2 separate regions of the Homo sapiens genome follow, and region 2 is linked to region 1. Evidence: promoter capture Hi-C in human tissues and cell types (Jung and others, 2019). All regions are on one chromosome and are shown on one strand. Each heading gives the region's core, a stretch centred on a gene start or on the middle of the fragment in contact. The rest is flanking DNA. Distances are from core to core; before and after follow the strand shown.

The links. The method cuts DNA at HindIII sites, captures the fragments that hold promoters and counts their contacts. A contact is called where the count stands out against the background at its distance.
Region 2: a fragment that was not itself captured here is called in contact with the fragment with the promoter of OTOF in region 1 in 2 of the 25 tissues and cell types used here (IMR-90 fibroblasts and liver).

What each region holds. Positions count from the first base shown.
Region 1 is chr2:26,557,383-26,560,303 of GRCh38, reverse strand. OTOF (otoferlin) reads left to right here and starts at 1,548. Exons shown (of 47, transcript NM_194248.3): 1 at 1,548-1,811. The coding sequence starts at 1,733. RefSeq lists enhancers at 601-1,393, 1,394-2,187. The HindIII fragment of the contact is 11,571 bases long and covers 1-2,921 here.
Region 2 is chr2:26,233,626-26,236,826 of GRCh38, reverse strand. It overlaps HADHA (hydroxyacyl-CoA dehydrogenase trifunctional multienzyme complex subunit alpha), which reads left to right. Exons shown (of 20, transcript NM_000182.5): 5 at 2,472-2,610. Among named protein-coding and RNA genes, the nearest start is that of HADHA, 9.4 kb to the left of the region's middle. The HindIII fragment of the contact is 5,257 bases long and covers 1-3,201 here.

The DNA of each region.
Region 1 (2,921 bases), core at 299-2,798:
CACAGATCACCTGATGACCTCATGGATGGAAAATGCTAGTGAATTTAGGTGTTTTTTTTTTTAAGACATTAAACTTATCTAGCTTTTGAAAATTTAGCATTCATACTTGTATTCAATAAACAGAATACTCTAAGACATTTTTAAATTCAATATGATTAGATAAATGTGAGAAAGGTAAGCAAGAATTGGTTAGGAAAAAGTGCAAAGGAAAAAAACGTAAGTAGAAAAAGAAAAATAGGGCACAGTAGCAAGGAAATATCTAGAAGGAGGAAAGAAGGCTCTTGGGACATACTGTAGGTTATTTGGAATGCAGAATTCAAAAGAAGTAACCTCTTGTTACCATGCTGTGAAAAATTAGTATTTCTCTTTTTAACCTTTAGACTCTGTTTCAGGTAGATCCCTGAGCTCACTCTTTTATCCTTTCAACAGTAATTGGGCATCCTACGGTGCACAGGATACCATGTGGGGCTCTGGGGTAGAGGGATGCTGTGCTCCAGGGCCCTCCTGAGGTCAGGAGGGGAAAAGGCAAGGGAAGCAGCCCCAGGACTCAGTAAGATGAGAGGAGGCAGGAGCAGCACAGAGGAGGACCCCAACCCAGCTGGGGTGCGGGTACAGAGGCACCTCCAGGAGCAGGCACTCAAGCTGAGTCCAGGGTGGGGTGGAGGGCATTCCACCAAGAATGAATAGCAAGAACAAGGCTGCAGATGACCCTGCACAGATTCCAGCATCAGGGATTCTGGCCCCCAGCGTCCCTTTCCTTGGTGTATGCTGCTGGAAGACAGGAGGGGGCAGTTCTCTTTTGGTCCTTAGAAATTTCCCTATAGACATCCCTTCTCCTGCCCCTAGCAGCTTATAACAGCAGAAGGCCATTCAATTCTGCTCCTCTGGCTGGAAAGCAAACATCAGCCTGGCTTACCTTCGCTAGCCTGCCTGACCCCCAGCCTTGGGGTGGGGCTAGGTTAGTGCCCTGGATCCTTAAACATGGCCCCTGGTAGCACATAAGCCTCTGCTGCCTCCACAACCAGCCATCTCCATCATGCATGGCCTGGTCCTGAGCCTCCCCTCAGGCAGCAGCCCCAGCCTCTCTGCTTCCTGAGATTCAGAAACAGGGATCCCAGGGCAGGGCTCAGGGCCCAGCCTCTTGGGGGCACAGTCTCCAGCAGGGAAGAGGTGGGCGTAGGTGGACAAATACATTCCCTTCTTCTTGTAGTGTGCCCCTGTGGGTGGGAGTGCCCCCCGCCCCACATCCACCCTACCTATGCTCATGCCCACTCCTCTGTGCCCACTACTGGTGGCAGGGCTTGCTTAGCAGGGAAGCAGCAGAGCCCTGCAGAGGGGTGGGCAGAGCCTCCCTTCCAGGAGCTGGGAGAAGACACCTGAAGCTGGACAGAGCTTTATCTGGGAGCCGGCGGCTGCTGAATAATGAATTCCAACTCTGCCGCACTCCCAGGCTGCACATTGGGTGCACACACACACACACACACACGCACACACCGATACACACACGCTGGGCTGACAACTTGGAGGGGCGGGGGCTGTGAGGCTCTGTGAGTCGCTGCAGGAGCAGCTTAGCTCGGCTTGGTTGCCTTGGTCTCTGTGGGCAGCATCGGAGGGGGGTCGGGAGGAGGAGGAGGAGGCAGCGGCAGAGAAGAGAGAGGCGTGTGAGCCGTGCTCCACCGGCTAGCTCCTTCCCGCTGCTCCTGCCTGGCAGTGCCAGGCAGCCCACACCAGCATGGCCTTGCTCATCCACCTCAAGACAGTCTCGGAGCTGCGGGGCAGGGGCGACCGGATCGCCAAAGTGACTTTCCGAGGTAGGGAAGCCGCTGTCTCAGAGGGACGCCAGCTCTGAGAGCTGGACCAGCCCATGCTCTGGAGGTGGCCGGGGATAGGACAGGGCTGGGAGGATGGGTGGGAAAAGTTCTAGCAGGGGCTGGGGCGACGAGCCTTTTCACAGGTAGTCATCTGCCTGGGACTGACTGGCCATTGTGATTTCTGGAAAATCAGGGTCCCCTGTTCTTCCATGCCTGTGTCTCCTTGTGCTTGCCAACATGCCAGTTCCCCGGGCAGGGCACAGAGCCCTCTGCCTGGGGAGGCAGAAGTGAGGACCACATCCCTGAGCTCAGGGAGACCCAGGACCCCCTCCTTCTCTCTCTCTCCCTCTCCTGCAGGTTGATTTCCTTGAGCACAGGGTGGGGGCCGGGTATGGAGCCTGGGGCACCCAGGGTGACTGGGAGAAACCAGGCAGCCAGTAGCTCCCTGGGCCCCAGAGTGATGGGGGACACTGTTGGCTTCTTTTAGATCTATTCATGGGCGGGAACCCCGGGAGCCCCTCGCCTCTCTTCTGTCTGGTCTTTTCTCATCCTTTTCACTCCTGTATTCAGCGACCATTTATTATGATCTACTGTGTCCCAAGGATAGGGGTAGAAACACAGAGCTGAGCACAACCCAGCCCCAGCCCCAAGGAGCCTGCATCTGTTGGGCAGGCGTGGAACAAGCAGGACAGGTATGTGAGACAGAAGGTGGGGGTGCAGCATGCAAGCTACAGAAGCAGCACCCTCACCCAGGCTGGTGACCGGTGGTCAGGGAAGGCTTCCCGGAGGAAGTAACACTCAGCTAATACCCGAAGGACCAGCGGGTGGGAGCTAGGAGAGGAGGTAAGGACTGAGGAGGCAGAGGAAACAGTGTGCCCAGAGCTGAGAGAGGAGCTGAAACTCTGGAACTGAAAGAGGTTCCATGTGTCTACAGCTCAGAGAGGGTGCAGGAGCGGAGGCCAGAGAGCCAAGCAGGGCAAGGAGGCGAGGCTGGACCTGACCCCGGGGACAGCGGAGCCCCTGAGCATTTTAAGTGGGGAAAGGCAGGGCCAGGCTGACTCTGTCCTTCACCACCCACCTCTGCCTCTCCATGTGGTTGCTGCCCAGCCC
Region 2 (3,201 bases), core at 16-2,515, 320 kb after region 1:
TTTATCTTGGTTAATAGTGTGTTTCTTAGGCCTAATAATTTCTCCTTTTAAAAGAAAGTAGAAGTGCTGGGCACAGTGACACAGGCCTGTAAAATTGAAAATGTACGTATCAGGCTGGGTGTGGTGGTTCTTGCCTGTAATCCCAGCACTTTGGGAGGCCGAGGCAGGTGGATCACATGAGGCCAAGAGCTCAAGACCAGCCTGGCCAACATGGTGAAACCCTGTCTCCACTAAAAATACAAAAATTAGGCATGGTGGCACACGCTTGTAATCTCAGCTACTCAGGAGGCTGTGGCACGAAAATCCCTTGAACCTGGGAGGCAGAGGTTGCAGTGAGCCGAGATCACACCACTGCACTCCAGCCTGGGTGACAGAGTGAGACTGTCTTAAAAAAAAAAAGTATATACACACACACACACACACACACACACACACACACACACACAGAGTATATATATATATATATACACACACACACACACACACATCATGTGATCTAGAGAAATCTCACCCCTTGTTTATAAGAACCAGTGTACAAGGATGTTTGGTCCTGTGTAGTGTGAAATAATGAAGAATTTAAAACCAAATGTCAGTCAGTAGGAAAATGGGTAAGTAAAATGTGGACTATTCACACAATAGAATACTACAAAACAGGTAAAAGGAATTAACTAGATCCACAATATGATGTTAGAACTCAAAAACATAAGGTTAAGTTAAAAGAAAAGCAAATTGCAGAATGTTTCATACAGTATATAGTTTCTATAAATGTTTTAAAACCAAACATGGAATAATTCTTGATACTATTTATGGACACAATCGTAGTTGGTCTGGAAGGAGACACTACAAACATGAAGATGGCTGCTTTGGGGAAATGAAGTGGGTGGTAGGACTTGATTGTTAAAGGCAGCTTTACAGATGCAGCTAGTATTTTCTTTTCCTCTGCTAAATGGTGGAATGCATGCCTACATTAACTTATTTACAATTGTTTACACATACATAAGGAGGGGAAATGATATTTTAGTGTCAGTTTAATAGGTTAAAATGTTAAGTTGTCAATTCCATTAAAATATGGGTATTTGTTATGTTCTTTGTATTTTAGACAATGATAGCCAGCATTGTAGGTTTAGTAATTTGTACTGAAAGTGTAATTATTTATGTGTAGTAATCAGTCTCTTGTTAGGCACAAATAATTCAGCTAGAAGAAAAACCACTTGATAAGATAATTTTGGGTCTTCTAAAAAATTAACATTAAACAGAACATTTATAAAGTCTAACAAGACACTGATGTACCTGGCAGTAGCTACCTATATCCAGAGGAAAATACATGTAGCTTCTATGAGGCCAGCTGAGCAACTCTCAGTGTATAAAATTACAGAATATACTAGTTATCCTTGGTCAAAAGTACAAAATCCATATCCTAAGTGTGTTCACAAAATAGCAAATGAAACAAACTGAAATTAAAGGACATTGAGTGGAACATCATTGCACCTGATCATTTTTATTTACTTATTTATTTTTGAGACGGAGTCTCCCTCTGCTGTCCAGGCTGGAGTACAGTGGTGCGATCTCGGCCCACTGCAACCTCCACCTCCCAGGTTCCAGTGATTCTCTCGCCTCAGCCTCCCGAGTAGCCAGGACTACAGGAATGCAGCACCACGCCCAGCTAATTTTTGTATTTTTAGTAGAGACGCGGTTTCACCATGTTGACCAGCCTGGTCTCGAACTCCTGACCTCAGGTGATCCACCTGCCTTGGCCTCTCAAAGTGCTGGGATTACAGGCATGAGCCACCATGCCTGGCCTACCTGGTCATTTTTATTCATTAGTGGGATCTGTTAAAATGTTTTAGATTTCTCTAAACAACCTGGAAGCTTTTCTTTTGCGTCATTTTTATTGCTGTTAACTACCTGATAGTGAAATGTTTAATCTGATAGTGAAGTAATTTACCAAAGATGATTTTCCCTTGTACCAAGCTTTGTAATTTAATGATTTATTACAGAAGTAAAAATAAATTATGCAACACATTTATGTTTTCTGGATCCAGAATTTTTTTTTTTTTTTTTGAGACAGAGTCTCACTCTGTCGCCCAGGCTGGAGTGCAGTGGCGCGATCTCGGCTCACTGCAAGCTCCACCTCCCGGTTTCACACTGTTCTCCTGCCTCAGCCTCCCAAGTAGCTGGGACTACAGGCGCCCGCCACTATGCCCAGCTAATTTTTTGTATTTTTAGTAGAGACGGGGTTTCACCGTGTTAGCCGGGATGGTCTCATGGATCCAGAAGTTTAACACTCTTTATGGAGAAATGATGTTGCTGCTATTGTGCTATTTGAAGCAAAATCATTCTTAACCTTCTATTTGAAGATTTGTCATCAAATATTGATGCATGATAGGATAAGTGTATAGTGAATAAGTATTGAACCAAATAAATTATAGTTTTATCTTTTTCTCTGTTCTCTACTTTTATGGATAATGCAGCATGTTAGCCGCTTGCAAGACCCTTCAAGAAGTAACACAGCTATCACAAGAAGCACAGAGAATAGTTGAGAAACTTGAAAAGTCCACAAAGCCTATTGTGGCTGCCATCAATGGATCCTGCCTGGGAGGAGGACTTGAGGTATAGATATTCTAAAGTTATTGAGACACTGTCCAACTCATTGGTGGCATTCATCAGCTGTAAACCCTTAGGCTACTGCTTTGCCTGGAAAAAGTTTCTGGAGGAGAATCCGCTTTGTTTTTTGTTTTTTGCTTTGAGACGGAATTTTGCTCTTGTCTCCCAGGCTGGAGAGCAATGGCACGATCTTGGCTCACTGCAACCTCTGCCTCCTGGCTTCAAACAATTCTCCTGCTTCAGCCTCCCCAGTAGCTGGGATTACAGGTGTGCATCACCATGCCCAGCTAATTTTTGTATTTTTAGTAGAGATGGGGTTTCACCATGTTGGCCAGGCTGGTCTCAAACTCCTGACCTCAGGTGATCCTCCCGCCTCGGCCTCCCAAAGTGCTGGGATTACAGGTGTGAGCCACTGTGCCTAAATAGCTTTGTTTTTAGTTATCAAACTTCTGGATAGGTGTTAATCCTTAATCCACATGACACAGAGCAAGTGGCACAAAGCAAGTAAATGAAGGTGTGATGTTTTCATTTGAACTGCATCTCTAATGTCCTTTTCAGCTGTAAAAATCTTGTTCAAGTTTGCAGGGCAAAGATTCA